Regions from separate parts of the Homo sapiens genome. Here region 1 is linked to region 2. Evidence: promoter capture Hi-C in 16 types of primary human blood cells and fetal thymus (Javierre and others, 2016). All regions are on one chromosome and are shown on one strand. The core of a region is centred on a gene start or on the middle of the fragment in contact, and the rest is flanking DNA. Distances in the headings are between cores, read along the strand shown. Region 1 overlaps SMG6 (SMG6 nonsense mediated mRNA decay factor). Region 2 holds the start of SMG6 (SMG6 nonsense mediated mRNA decay factor).

Region 1 (6,469 bases), core at 835-3,334, 120 kb before region 2:
CTTCTTAGCTTAGCACACACTGGACCCAAATAACCTCAGCTCAGAGCTGGAAAGTACTCTCCCTGGGGTCAGCTGCTGTACCCTGCTGGGGTCAGACTGGAGCCTTAGGCCAACACCCCTTCCTCTCACAAGGAGTCCTACGGGAGGCGTGGGGAGGGGACAGGGGCTCCTGCCGTGGGAGAGATCACGTGTGCCCCACACTCAGCACTTGGAGGAAGAGGAACCCCCTGGTGCCAGGCTGCAGTGCTAACGCCCCAACCCGGAGCCAGGGAGACTGGGTGGGGAGCCAGGGTAGCAAAGGGGCTTCCCACAGCCACCACCACTTCCTTCAGGGAAGTGCTGATGGACTATTACTCAGTGACCTCCTAAAATGCCCTTTTGGGAAGGCATATTAAGTGTCCTTGAAGGGGTGCCGATTAGCCTTGGGATTAGTTCTTATTTCAGAGCTGCCCTATGAAGGTGAGTGAACTAGTTGTTTTTTAACTTGAGAATTTCTATCTCATCTACAGAGTCAACACATGGAAGCTCCCTAAGGAAGTCAGCTTACTGCATACGCCCTACGTATCCCTCTTTCTCCCTATGTGACAAGACCTCAGAGGGCTCCCTACGACCCTTCTCCAGTGTGCTCTGTAGACTATGGAAGACGATCCATGGAAAAGCAGCAAGTACAAGAATTTCTAGAGTTTTTTTTTTTTTAAACAGTACTCCAATCCAACAGTGTGATAAATGCATCCGAGCTACAATTAGGAAGATATATAGCATCAGAATGCGAAGGTCTGGGCAGCCTGGTGAAACGCGGGCTCTCCAGAGCCCCAGCTATGTTTCCCATTATGTAACCCTGGTCATGGGCAGACAGCCAGACTCCAAATGAAAAAGAGACTCTGGCTTGGCACTGGTTCTATTTTCCTATCCTCATTCGGGGTCAGCGCAGTGTCATACAGCTGCAGAGAAAGCTCTGGGGATTAAACCTGGGAAAGCCTCCAAGACCAGGACCTGGGTTCAAGTACCAGCTGAAAGCAATAAACCAACTGCCACAGCTGGGCTAGGTTTGGATGTTCTCAAAGTCCCCTGACTCTTTCACTTACTGAGAACTAGAAATCAGGATAAGTGAAGATTTGGCCTCAGCAGAGACTGAAATGAGGTAGGCTGTCCCACTGCCCTAGCCTTGCCAAAGGTCCTGGGATGCAAGGGGTCACTATGCTCAGGTCCATGAAGCCTGTCGCTCTACTCCTCTCCAGCACGACTTTCCTTGTGCTCACTTGCCGAAGTAGGGGTGCAGCTGCCTCTCCCTTCTCACCAGAGGCTTGGTGTGGATGGGAACACAAACTATGCTAGCAGATGGGGCAAGTAGGTGGGCCCTCCAAACCAAGCAGTCTGTCCTAAACACACCCAGCACTCTACATTGACTTTCACAGTGGCCCCAGGCCACTTTCCACATCCTGCTATAATCCTCTATACCAATAATCTCCTGGGATTATGAAGCCATTCTGTTACAATCCCTAACGGGTACAACTGGGGAGTCAACTTGCTTCCATCCATGCTGGCTCTAACACACAGATCTAATAAGTGCCACAGCGAGGGAAGGCACACATGCCCACATGCCCAGCAATCCTGCCCTCATCACTCTGCAGTGCCAACGATACTCTCATCATCATCCTAGGTGTTCCACATGTGCCTGCTGTTGTGGTTTTGACTGGAAGGAAGAGGAGCATGGGCAAAGAGGAGAGAACCAAGGAAACTCAAGATGAACCCTGGAATTCCCCTCAGAGAGGGGAAGATGCTGTGCAATGATTCTCTAACTGCATAAGGAAAGAGGGTAACAAATTAAAGACAGGGAGGGAATGAAGGAAGAGAGATGAAAGAAGGGTCCCACATGTCAGAGGGACCATTTGGAAGTGGGGTTTCTGGAGGAAAAGCAAAGGAGACTTCCTCTTTGTAGGAAAAACAGGCTCTCTGGTCACCTTATCTTAGGATCAGAGAAATGTATCTTTGCAAAGAAGAAACTCAGGCAAAGACCAATGAAAGCATGCCAAGAAGGGGCACTAAACAGCAGCCATTTCATTCCTGCTCCCTTGGGAGCATTTCCAAACCCTTCAAAACGATGAGCAGCAACAAGGACTTTACAAGCGTCAGGGGGGTTACAGTTTTGGCATCTACAGAACCATTGGGGTGTGTTATTCTCTATGACCTTAAAAGAAAAGCCTCTTCAATCTGTAAGGTCAGTGGGCATGAGATTAAGTTTGAAACCCACAAAAGCACCATACCTTTGCCAATCTCTCAACCAGAGTATTTACTCAGTGAGTATTAGGAAGCTACATGAGAATATGGGAAACAAAAGAAGGAAGGTGCAATTCTGATTCCACTTTTCCAGGCCTCTGATCTGAAGACTCTGAGGTGGGACTACCCTCAGTGGTAGTCAGGCCAGGTTTGCTCTGTTGAACGCGGGCACCAGTCCTTAAATAGCCATGCCTTGGGGTCAGGCCCCAGGATAGCAAAGCCTCTCTTTCATGCTTAAACTCGCATTCCAGAGATAACCAGCTGCTGATCCTAACTGCAGAGAGAGAAAGAAAGAGAGCACAGAAGGAGATGTTTTTCTCTATTACACTGTTTTATCTCTCTAGCCCGGACTGGCTTCACGAGAGAGTAAGTGGTATCCACAGCTACGGTAACGTATTTGCTGGGTAATTAAATTCAATATACTATTTGGTCAGATTTGCTCTCCTCGTGAAGAAGTCTGAGAAGACTAAGCAAATATGACTCAAATGTCCCAACCCCCTCTGCCTCTCTGTAGCCCAGAATGTGAAGCCCAGCCGGGGATGGCTGTAGCTTGGACCACGTGCCTGCCTGTAGATTGAGCCCTTGCCCAAAGATGGGCAGCAGCTCAGAGCCGGCAACGGGCCATTTGCTGCAGCATCCAAAGAGAAAACAGACTCAGCATCTCAAGCAAATGAGACCCAGCACTTCCTGTGTGAGCTTTCCATTTCCTCAGCCGAACAAAAGCCAAAAGGGAGTGAGAGAGGGAGGAGGGATGAAGGGAGACATGCTGCGTGAGAGAGCTAACAGACCTGTGGCCCGGGATATGGGTAAACAGGGGCTGTGTGAATCCTATCTAAGAGACCTGTGGTTGTGAGGTGAGGTGACCCGGGGAAGGCCCAGGCTCCAAGGACAGATGGTCTGCCTCCCCACCCTGAGAGTAAGGAAGGGACACTCAGTGACCCTTGTGCATGCTCAGAAGCAGTGGCTTAGATACTTGGAGAACTGAGTCCTTTCTTGGCATTTTCGTTCCAAAACTGCAAACTGCCTAGTCCTCATTACAGATTAATAGCCTGAAAAGTTTGAGGCTGTAGATGTTAACTCTTTGGGGATCACTGCTGAGAAACAGCTGTCCCCTGGCCAGCAGATCCGTCAGTTCCTTTGTGTGGCCCCAGCTGCACAGCTTGGAGCTCCAAGGCTTCAGCCTGGAGTGCATTTTGGAAACCTAGGAGGGCCCACAGATAGGATGCAGAGAACTGTCCGATGCTGTGAGTGCCGCCCACACCGTTACAGAGCTAGAGGTGGGGAGGGCATGGGGAGACTGAGATTAATAACAGTCCAGGGGGTACATCTTGAGGCAAGTACAGGGAAAAAATTTAGAAAGAAAAGGGGAAGAATCAGACTACACAGTCCACACATAAACTGCTGCCCAGAAATCTCTGCTTTAGCCTTCCCTCTGGAGGTTACCCATGAGTCTAGGAGACTCACATGGCTGGTCCCCAAGTCAAACAAGCTCCCCTCCCTACTCCCCAAAAGTGCCCTCCAAAGTAGCCAGGGTCTCCATAATCTATCCCCCAGCATTACTTCTCTCCAGAGAAGAACACTGGAGATGCTTGTTCTGAAACACACATAAATGCATAACACAGAGCATGAAGGAGCTTTGGGTACACAGCACCAGCCGAAGACCACACTGAGAGAATGTGGGGTAGGGGAAGAAAAGGAAGAGGGAAACGAGAAATGGCCAGGGGGGTGGGGTGGGCAGGGGTGAAACAGAGAAAGACAGAGACACTAAGGAAGAGTAGAGATAAGAAAGAGAGGCCCAGCACTGTGGGAGGCCGAGGCAGGCAGACCGCTTTAGCCCAGGAGATCAAGGCCAACTTGGGCAACATGACAATGCCCCATCTCTATTTAAAAAATACAAAAAGTTAGCCGGGTTGGTGGTGCATGCCTGTAGTCCCAGCTACTTGGGAGACTGAGGTGGGAGAATCACCTGAGCCCAGGAGGTCGAGGCTGCAGCGAGCTGTGATCGTGCCACTGCCGTCCACCCTGGGTAACAGAGCGAGACCCTGGGAAAGGAAGGTAGGAAGGCAGGAAGGGAGGGAAGAAGGAAAAAGAAAGAAAAAAGAAAGAAGGGAGGGAGGGAGGGAAAAATTAAAGTGAGCAGGAGGGAGAGATGAATAGTGAACAGGGCTGAACAGAGATGGAGCCTACACGCACAGTTGTACAAACATGAACACACACAGTGACACTAACACAAAGAAGAATGTGACACATGGAACATGGACAGAGATTGAAGTCAGCAAGCTTTTTCTGTAATGAGCTAAACTGCAAATATTCCAGGCCGTGTGAACCATACAGCCTGTGGCAACTACTCAACTCTGCTCTGTAATGTGAAATCAGCCATAGACACAGTGTAAACAAGTAAGCATGGTTATATTCCAATCAACTTTATGGACACTAAAATCTGACTTTTATACAATTTTCATGAGTCATGAAATAGTACTCGTTTGATTTTTTGTTTAACCATTTAAAAATGTAAACCATTATTAGCTTGTGGGCCATGGTATGCTGATCCCTGATACAGGTGCGTGCGACACACACACACACACACACACACACACACACACACACACACACACAGCAGAGGCAGACGAAAGCAGAGGCAAAGAGAAAGACAGAGGCAGGCAGGCAGAGACAGGCCAGGACAGACAGACAGACAGGTAGGTAAAAGGCAAGGCAGGCAGATACAGGAAGACCCACATACACAGAAACCCCCTCTAACAGAGAGATCCAGACTGGCATACAGAGACATAGTTACACACAAACATGGACACAACACAGACATTCAGGAACACATACTCACAGACCCAGACACAGACACAGACTGACATGGACCCAGAATCAGCACAGACACAGACAGATACACTGGTCTGATGTGGTGGCTCACGCCTGTAATCCCTGCACTTCTGGAGGCTGAGGCGGGTGGACCACTGGAGGGCAGGAGTTTTGAGACCAGCCTGACCAGCATGGTGAAACCCCATCTCTACTAAACATAAAAAAATTAGCCAGGCCTGGTGGCTCATACCTGTAATCCCAGCCACTTGGGAGGCTGAGGTGGGAGAATCACTTGAACCCAGGAGGCAGAGGCTACAGTGAACTGAGATCATGCCACTGCACTTGAACCTGGGCAACAGAGCAAGACTCTGGGGGGAAAAAAAAAAAGGGCCAGATGGGGTGGCTCACACCTGTAATCCCAGCACTTTGGGAGGCTGAGGTGGGTAGATCACCTGAGGTCAGGAGTTTGAGACCAGCCTGGCCAACATAGTGAAACCTCATCTCTACTAAAAATAAAAAATTAGCTGGGTGTGGTAGCACATGCCTGTAGTCCCAGCTACTTGGGAGGCTGAGGCAGGAGAACTGCTTGAACATGGGAGGCTGAGGATGCAGTGAGCTGAGGTCGCGCCATTATACTCCAGCCCAGGCAACAAGAGCAAAACTCCGTCTCAAAAAAAAAAAAAAAAAAAAAAAGGCTGGGTACGGTGGTTCATGCGCCTGTAATCCCAGCACTTTGGGAGGCTGAGGCGGGTGGATTGCCTGAGGTCAGGAGTTTGAGACCAGCCTGGCCCACGTGGTAAAACCCCGTCTCTATTAAAAATACAAAAATTAGCCGGGTGTGGTGGCAGGTGCCTGTAATCCCAGCTACTCGGGAGGCTGAGGTAGGAGAATAGCTTGAACTCAGGAGACAGAGGTTGCAGCCAAGATTATGCCACTGCACTCCAGCCTGGGAGACAGAGCGGGACTCCATCTCAAAAAAAAAAAAAAAAAAAAAAAAAAGACAGCTATAGATGTGGACACAGAGACATGAAAACACAGACATACACTGAAAGAAACCTACTTGGGGACACATGAATCCCATACAGAGATATATATACTCAAGGATATACAGACACAAACAGGTATAGACACAAATACAGACATAGATACGGACATCCCACATGAACACATACAGATAACAACACACGTGGCCACAGTTGGATGGATGCACATGGACAAGTAAACACAGACAGACATGGACCAGGCACACGGAAAGACCCCTAGACAAGCGCCCAGAGGCAGACACACAGAACTTTGCGCTCAGATACAGACACTAAGACACACACAGACTTACAGACACACAGACAAATGGACCTAGACAAGCACAGAGTCGGACACAACC
Region 2 (6,239 bases), core at 3,271-5,770:
TGCCTGAGCCTGGCGTGAGTCACCCCAAGATGTAGGGCTGACTTCATCATCAGTGTCCAAGAAATGTAGCTGGGGCGTCTGAGTCTTTAGAGCAGGTTTCTGATCAGGATTGTTTGGGTCCCACAATCGGCGTGTGGTGCCTCCACGGCCCCAACTCCGAGATCCCTTACTACCAGATCCAAACAAAAGCCGAGGTCCCAAAGGCGCGGACTCTGGAGAACCTGCTGAATTGACAGATAGGGTGGTATGGGCAGGCAAAATCAGAATGCCACGACCACGACCCCGAAGTTCTTGTTTCGGGTTTTTGGACTCCTGCTTCTCAGAGCCTTTGCCCCCACTGCTCAAGCCTTTGTCAGGCTTTCCTCTATCCATATCATCCCTGGCTGACCTCACCATGGGAGACTCTTTGTTCATGGCTTCTGCATCGAAAGTGACACGAAGAGTGCCTCGATATTCTTTAGCACTGTTTTTCTGCTCACCCTCCCCACGGCCAGACCAGTTTCTTTCTAAATGTCTCTTCCTTTCTGAACTTCTCCTGGGTCCTAATCCATCAGGCTCATCAATTCTGTCCTCGTCTAAGGAATCGGTTGAGGACACAGACACTTGCTTCTTCAGTCGTGGCCTCTCCTTGGTCCTATCCTGTCGGCGGCGGCGACATCCATTATCCGTCAGGCCAGCTCCCTCAGCGCTGTTGTTGCTGCCAGCTGAGCTGGTGCTGCGCGTGCGGTAGCGATTCCTTCGTTTGTCTGAGCGGGAGTAGCGCTTTGCGGAGCCCGGCCTCCCGCGGGCTGGGTCGTCGTGGGTTTCCCTCACCCCCTCCCCTTTTCCCATCCTCTTTCCTTTTTCTCCTTTTGCAGCCCCTACTCTCCCACCACCTGGGCTCTTTTCTATCTCAGCCCTGTCTGGTTTATTCGCAACTTCCTCCTTCGCAACATTTCCCCTACACTCATCTTCCTCTACTCTCAGTTGTTCTACCTGGTTGAGGACTTCTTCCTCCTCCACCCGACTGGCGGATTCTTTGCTAACAGTCTGCAAACGTCGTCCAGGCTGATAGATCTGCAGGTCGGGTTTCTTTGTTCTTTTGATAATTTTTAGACTACGATCCTCTTGTCCAGCAGTCCTAGGAAAGGATTCTTGTCCCCGATTATTTTCTGGGTCTATAGGACCATTCTGCTCTTGGTTGTTCAGTTCCTTGCAGACATCTTTAACGGGCTGTGTACCATTTTCAACAGCAGAGCAATCTCGGTCATTAACAATTTCATCTTTGAATTCCTCACTCCCAGGGGGTTCCTTGATTTTGGGCTTGTTCCTTAGCCGAGAAAGGCCAGGCTTATAGATTTCCAGATCTGGACGCCTGTTATCTTTGCGCGGCCTGGCCTCCTTTAATTCCTTCATGTTTTCTGTTATGTCGGGGAAAGAGTTTGGGAGGGAAAGGTAGAAGATAAGAATAAAGAAGGAAGATAGGGGAAAGACTGTCATTCTGGTTAAGTAACAAAAAAAGTCGAGCAAGAATTACATATCCAAATGCTAATACTGGTAGGCAAAGAAGGACATTTCTGTAGAAGCAGAAATTCTGGGTTTACAACACTTGTTCAACAATTCACAAGGCTAAGGACCTAACTGTGTTGGGGCTACCTACACTTGGGTAAGTGAAATGGGGGAAACCCATCTCCTTATGTGTCATCCAAGTCATATTCAGAAATCCAAGATCCCAAACTACCTCATTATTGTCAGAACAAAAGACCTCTCTAACCTTTTCAGCACTACACTGTTCTCTATCTATAGAGCCTGTGAATCCACCTCAGCCTTTTCTTCCGCCTCTAACTTTTTCCTGGGTGGCTAAGTTCTTTTAACATAACAGCAGGAGGAAGAAGTAAAAAAGGAGAAAAAGGAGGGAGGGTATTATAACAATTATCAGTCCTGGACATCTCTGGAGAAAAAAAATGCAACTTTAGTCTTTAAACTTGACCAGGATGATTCTCTTCTTCAAGATACCAATTACCAAATAACATACCTGCTGGTGAATTAAACAGCAAGCAGTTCTTTTCCCATTCTTCAACTTCACCCATCCTCACCAACTCACTAACAGTAGCTCACAGAGTTACCAAAATACTGCTCAGACTATCATACTAGAATACTGACACTAACTGCTACTGTGATGATGGAATTATTAGAAAAAAGTTCCATAAGGGAACTTTCCCTGGATGCTGATGGAAAGATTGTGACATACTCTCAAAATGCCAACAACTGGGAACTCAAGAATTAAGAATAATACAGGACTTTAGAAACCACTCTCGGCCGGGCGCGGTGGGTCACGCCTGTAATCCCAGCACTTTGGGAGGCCGTGGTGGGTGGATCACGAGGTCAGGAGATCGAGACCATCCTGGCTAACACGGTGAAACCCCGTCTCAACAAAAAATACAAAAAATTAGCCGGGCGTGGTGGTGGGCGCCTGTAGTCCCAGCTACTCGGGAAGCTGAGGCAGGAGAATAGCGTGAACCCAGGAGGCGGAGCTTGCAGTACGCGGAGATCGCGCCAGTGCACTCCAGCCCAGCGGACAGATACTTACTTAAGTATCTGGTTTTTTAAAAAAGTATCTGTTACCGTTATCAAAAGTAACCACTAAACATTACAATGGAAAAGTGACAGAATTCGGGAGAATATTATCAAGTACACAAATGGAATGCTATATAAAATCCTAGCATAGGCCAGGTGCAGTAGCTCACGCCTATAATCCCAGCACTTTGGGAGGCTGAGGCGGGAGGACTGCTTGAGGCCAGGAGTTCGAGATCAGCCTGGGCAACATGGCAACACCCTGTCTCTATAACGTATACAAAAAATAGCCAGGTGTGGTGGTGCAGGTCTGTAATTCCAGCTACTCGGAAGGCTGAGGTGGGAGGATCACTTGAGCACAGGAGGGGGAGGCTACAGTGAGCTGAGATCCCTCCACTGCACTCCAGCCTGGAAGACAGAGTGAGACCCTGCCTCAAAAAAATTGGCCGGGCACGGTGGCTCACGCCTGTAATCCCAGCACTTTGGGAGGCCAAGGCGGGCGGATCACGAGGACAGGAGTCCAGACCATCCTGGCCAACACGGAGAAACCCCGTCACTACAAAAATACAAAAAATTAGCCAGGCGTGGTGGCACACGCCTACAGTCCAAGCTACTGGGGAGGCTGAGGTAGGAGAATGGCGTGAACCCGGGAGGCGGAGGTTGCAGTGAGCAGAGATCGCGCCACTGCACTCCAGCCTGGGCGACAGAGCTAGACTCCGTCTCAAAAAATAATAATAACAACAATAAAAAAGTTTTTAATCCTAGTATTGCTCTCTAAATATAAATGGAAACAAGCCCAAAACAGGAATCATATGCTCCAGCAAGTACATTTACTGTTTGTAGGTGTAAGGAAAAGGGGAAGAAAAGAGACTGAGGTTTTGGATAGTGCTTCACTATTTTCATAAGTTTAAAAGGTAGGTTCATGAAGTATCCACAAAGATAAAGCAGTTTAACCCAAGAATAGCTCACCCTCGGCAGTCTGTAACTTGGTGGGGGGCGGGGGGATGGGGAAAGCTATTCCTACTACTTTCTAGAGCAGCGGGAGAAAATAGCCTTAATAATCCAATTATGTTAATCAACAAAAACCAATTTCACAGACTGGCCGCAAACCTAGAGAAGGCACCTATCACAGCTACCATTCTACACAACTCTATTGCCTAACGCAGGAGAGGTGAGACACTTAGAATCTTTCTTACTTTCCTGACGTGGCTGGAGACTTGAAATTAACTTGCAAATTGAGCATTCTCTCTAATAAAAACTGCTCCCACACATGCCAGGGCCAAACCCGAGTAGTCTGAGGTCCCGGATCCCTCCAGTGGCGCAGCTTTCGGAAGCCTGTCTTGGGGGGGAAAAGTTCAGCAACGAAGTCGCAGGCTCTTAAACCTTTCTCCCCAATTCCTTCTCTCCGACGTTAAAGCGGTGGCCGGGGCAGGCCCGCGGAGGGCGGCCTGGAGAGCGATACGCCCGGGGCCTCCACCAGACCCCACTCCTTTCCGCGTCTCCCGATGCCTGGGAATCCGGGGCGGGTCTGAGAGGGCTGGGGCAAAAGGAACAGTCACCTTCGCGGCGAGAAAGAGGGTGGAGGCAGGAATTCGGGCCAGGCTCTCCCGGAGCTGGCCAGGACTGGCCGAGCCCGACCCCGCACTAACCCGCGAGAGAGGTAGGGCAGCGAGGGTCCGCCGCGGCCCCAGCGCCTACTGCTGGGGGAAGGGGCGGGGGCTCCGGAGCCGAGGGCCGAGCGGGGAGGAGGCAGAGGAGGAGGAGAGGGAGGCGGGGCGGGCAGGCCCGGCCCAGGAGCTGGGCGGCGCGACTCACCTCTGCTCCCGGCCTGCGGGGCCAGAGTAGCCAGGATCCCGCGCAGCTCCGACGCGGAGATCCGCACACGCTCCAGCCCTTCCGCCATCTTCGCGGCTGCTGCTACAGCCGTAGCGGCTCCGCCACCGCCGCGCGCAGCCAGGAAACCACCACAGACGGGCGGCGCGCGCGCTCGCCCACCTCCCGGCCTTTCCCCGCCCCCTGCCGCCCTCCCTTTCCGAACGACGGTGGCCGCGCTGGGAGGAAAAGCGCCCGCCGCCGGTTCCAGAGGGGCGGGACCGGAGCGAGAGCCTGGGTGGGGCGGGCGGGCGCTGCGCGTGCGCAGAGGTGCGGCCGGGGAGGCGCGCGGAGGCTGGAGCTGGAGGCGCGGCGCCGGTGAGCTGAGGTGAGGCGAGGCCGGGCCGTGCCAGGCCAGGCGGGCGTTTGCGGCGGTGGCTGCCGTTGCTGTTGTCGTGGACACCAAGGACACTGCTAGTCTGGGACTCGGGTTGACAGAGACACCCCTCAGCCTGGGCTCCTCTGGACACCTTAGGCCAGGCTCTCCCGCCACAGGCCCGGCCTAGCGCCGCGGGCCATTACTTGGGACCTTGAAGATCTGCTAAGAGTAGTTGTTACTATTCCCTTTTTTTTTTAGTTGGAGTCTCGCTCTGTTGGAGACTCCCGGGCTGGAGTGCAGTGGCGCGGTCTCGGCTCACTGCAACCTCTGCCTCCTGGATTCAAGCGATTCTCCTGCCTCAGCCTCCCTAGTAGCTGGGATTACAGGTGCACGCCACCAAGCCCGGCTAATTTTTGTATTTTTTGTAGAGACGGGGTTTCACTAGGCTGGTCTCGAACTCCTGACCTCAGGTGATCCACCCGCGTCGGCCTCCCAAAGTGCTGGGATTACAGGCGTGAGCCACCGCGCCCGGCCGCCCCCTGACTTTTAAAAACTAGATACGATATAGTTGGAATCGTGTGGAAGGAAGTACATCAGGAGGCATATAAGTCCATTTGGGACCTGTAATCCCGGCGACTCGGAACGCTGAGACGGGCGGATCGCTTGAACCCGGGAGGCGGAGACTGCAGTGAGCCGAGATCGCGCCACTGCACTCCAGCCCGGGAGTCTCCAACAGAGCGAGACTCCGCCTCAAAAAAAAAAAAAAGTCAATTTGGGAATTTCTGTGTCACTATGGATTCTTGAAAAAAATTACTGCTGTGGATCTCAGGTTGACTTTTTAATTTCCCATCTTTAAAATTGAACTATACCAGAAGGCTGGTACTTGAATCTTTTTTTGGAGAACTGTACAGAGGTGAAGCTCCCTTCCCCAAGGCCTCCTGCCTCCACCTGTTGCCCCTCCACAGCCCCATAGGCTTTTACCCCACACCCATCACAGAATAGTTACCAATTATTCCTTAGTCTGAGCCGAAGGGATTGCCACAACCTCTGACAGAACTCCTTCAGTTCCTTTTACGTGACACTTTGTCACCGGAAGGTTAAGCATAAGAAGAAAGTCAGTAGATGATGGGTGAAAAGATCCAACAGTTCAGAAGAGGAACCATTTGAGTGGTCAGAGCAGAAGACAGCCTTTGCCACCAGATTTGAGAGAAATAGGAAGAAGCGTTAAAAAATAATCTGTTTCATATTGAAATTTGAGAGGCCATTGCATGATTTCTTTTTTCAGCTGGAAAAATAATGGAAAACAAGAAAACTTTCTTAGGACAAATGGCACCACCCATTTAATGCAACAGTGTCAGTGAACTGCAGATTAGATATGCCAAAAGTTAAACCAGTTCAAGAAAATTTACCAGAACTCAGAAGGAAAAGGTAATAGATAAAAACTGAGAGACAAAGATAGGAGACATGGAGAAGGGGTACAAAAAATTAATAATTA

The links. The method cuts DNA at HindIII sites, captures the fragments that hold promoters and counts their contacts. A CHiCAGO score of 5 or more calls a contact.
Region 1: a contact is called between a fragment that was not itself captured here and the fragment with the promoter of SMG6 in region 2, in 1 of 17 cell types (activated CD4 T cells). The highest score is 5.2, in activated CD4 T cells.

What each region holds. Positions count from the first base shown.
Region 1 is chr17:2,178,900-2,185,368 of GRCh38, forward strand. All of the region lies in intron 12 of SMG6 (SMG6 nonsense mediated mRNA decay factor), which reads right to left. Among named protein-coding and RNA genes, the nearest start is that of SMG6-AS1, 92 kb to the left of the region's middle. RefSeq lists an enhancer at 1-2,096. The HindIII fragment of the contact is 4,942 bases long and covers 1-4,555 here.
Region 2 is chr17:2,299,265-2,305,503 of GRCh38, forward strand. It overlaps SMG6 (SMG6 nonsense mediated mRNA decay factor), which reads right to left and starts at 4,521. Exons shown (of 19, transcript NM_017575.5): 1 at 4,369-4,521; 2 at 1-1,400. The coding sequence starts at 4,456. SRR (serine racemase) reads left to right here and starts at 4,686. Exons shown (of 8, transcript NM_021947.3): 1 at 4,686-4,753. RefSeq lists enhancers at 2,779-3,593, 3,923-4,649 and silencers at 4,151-4,360, 4,551-4,770. The HindIII fragment of the contact is 10,069 bases long and covers 1-6,239 here.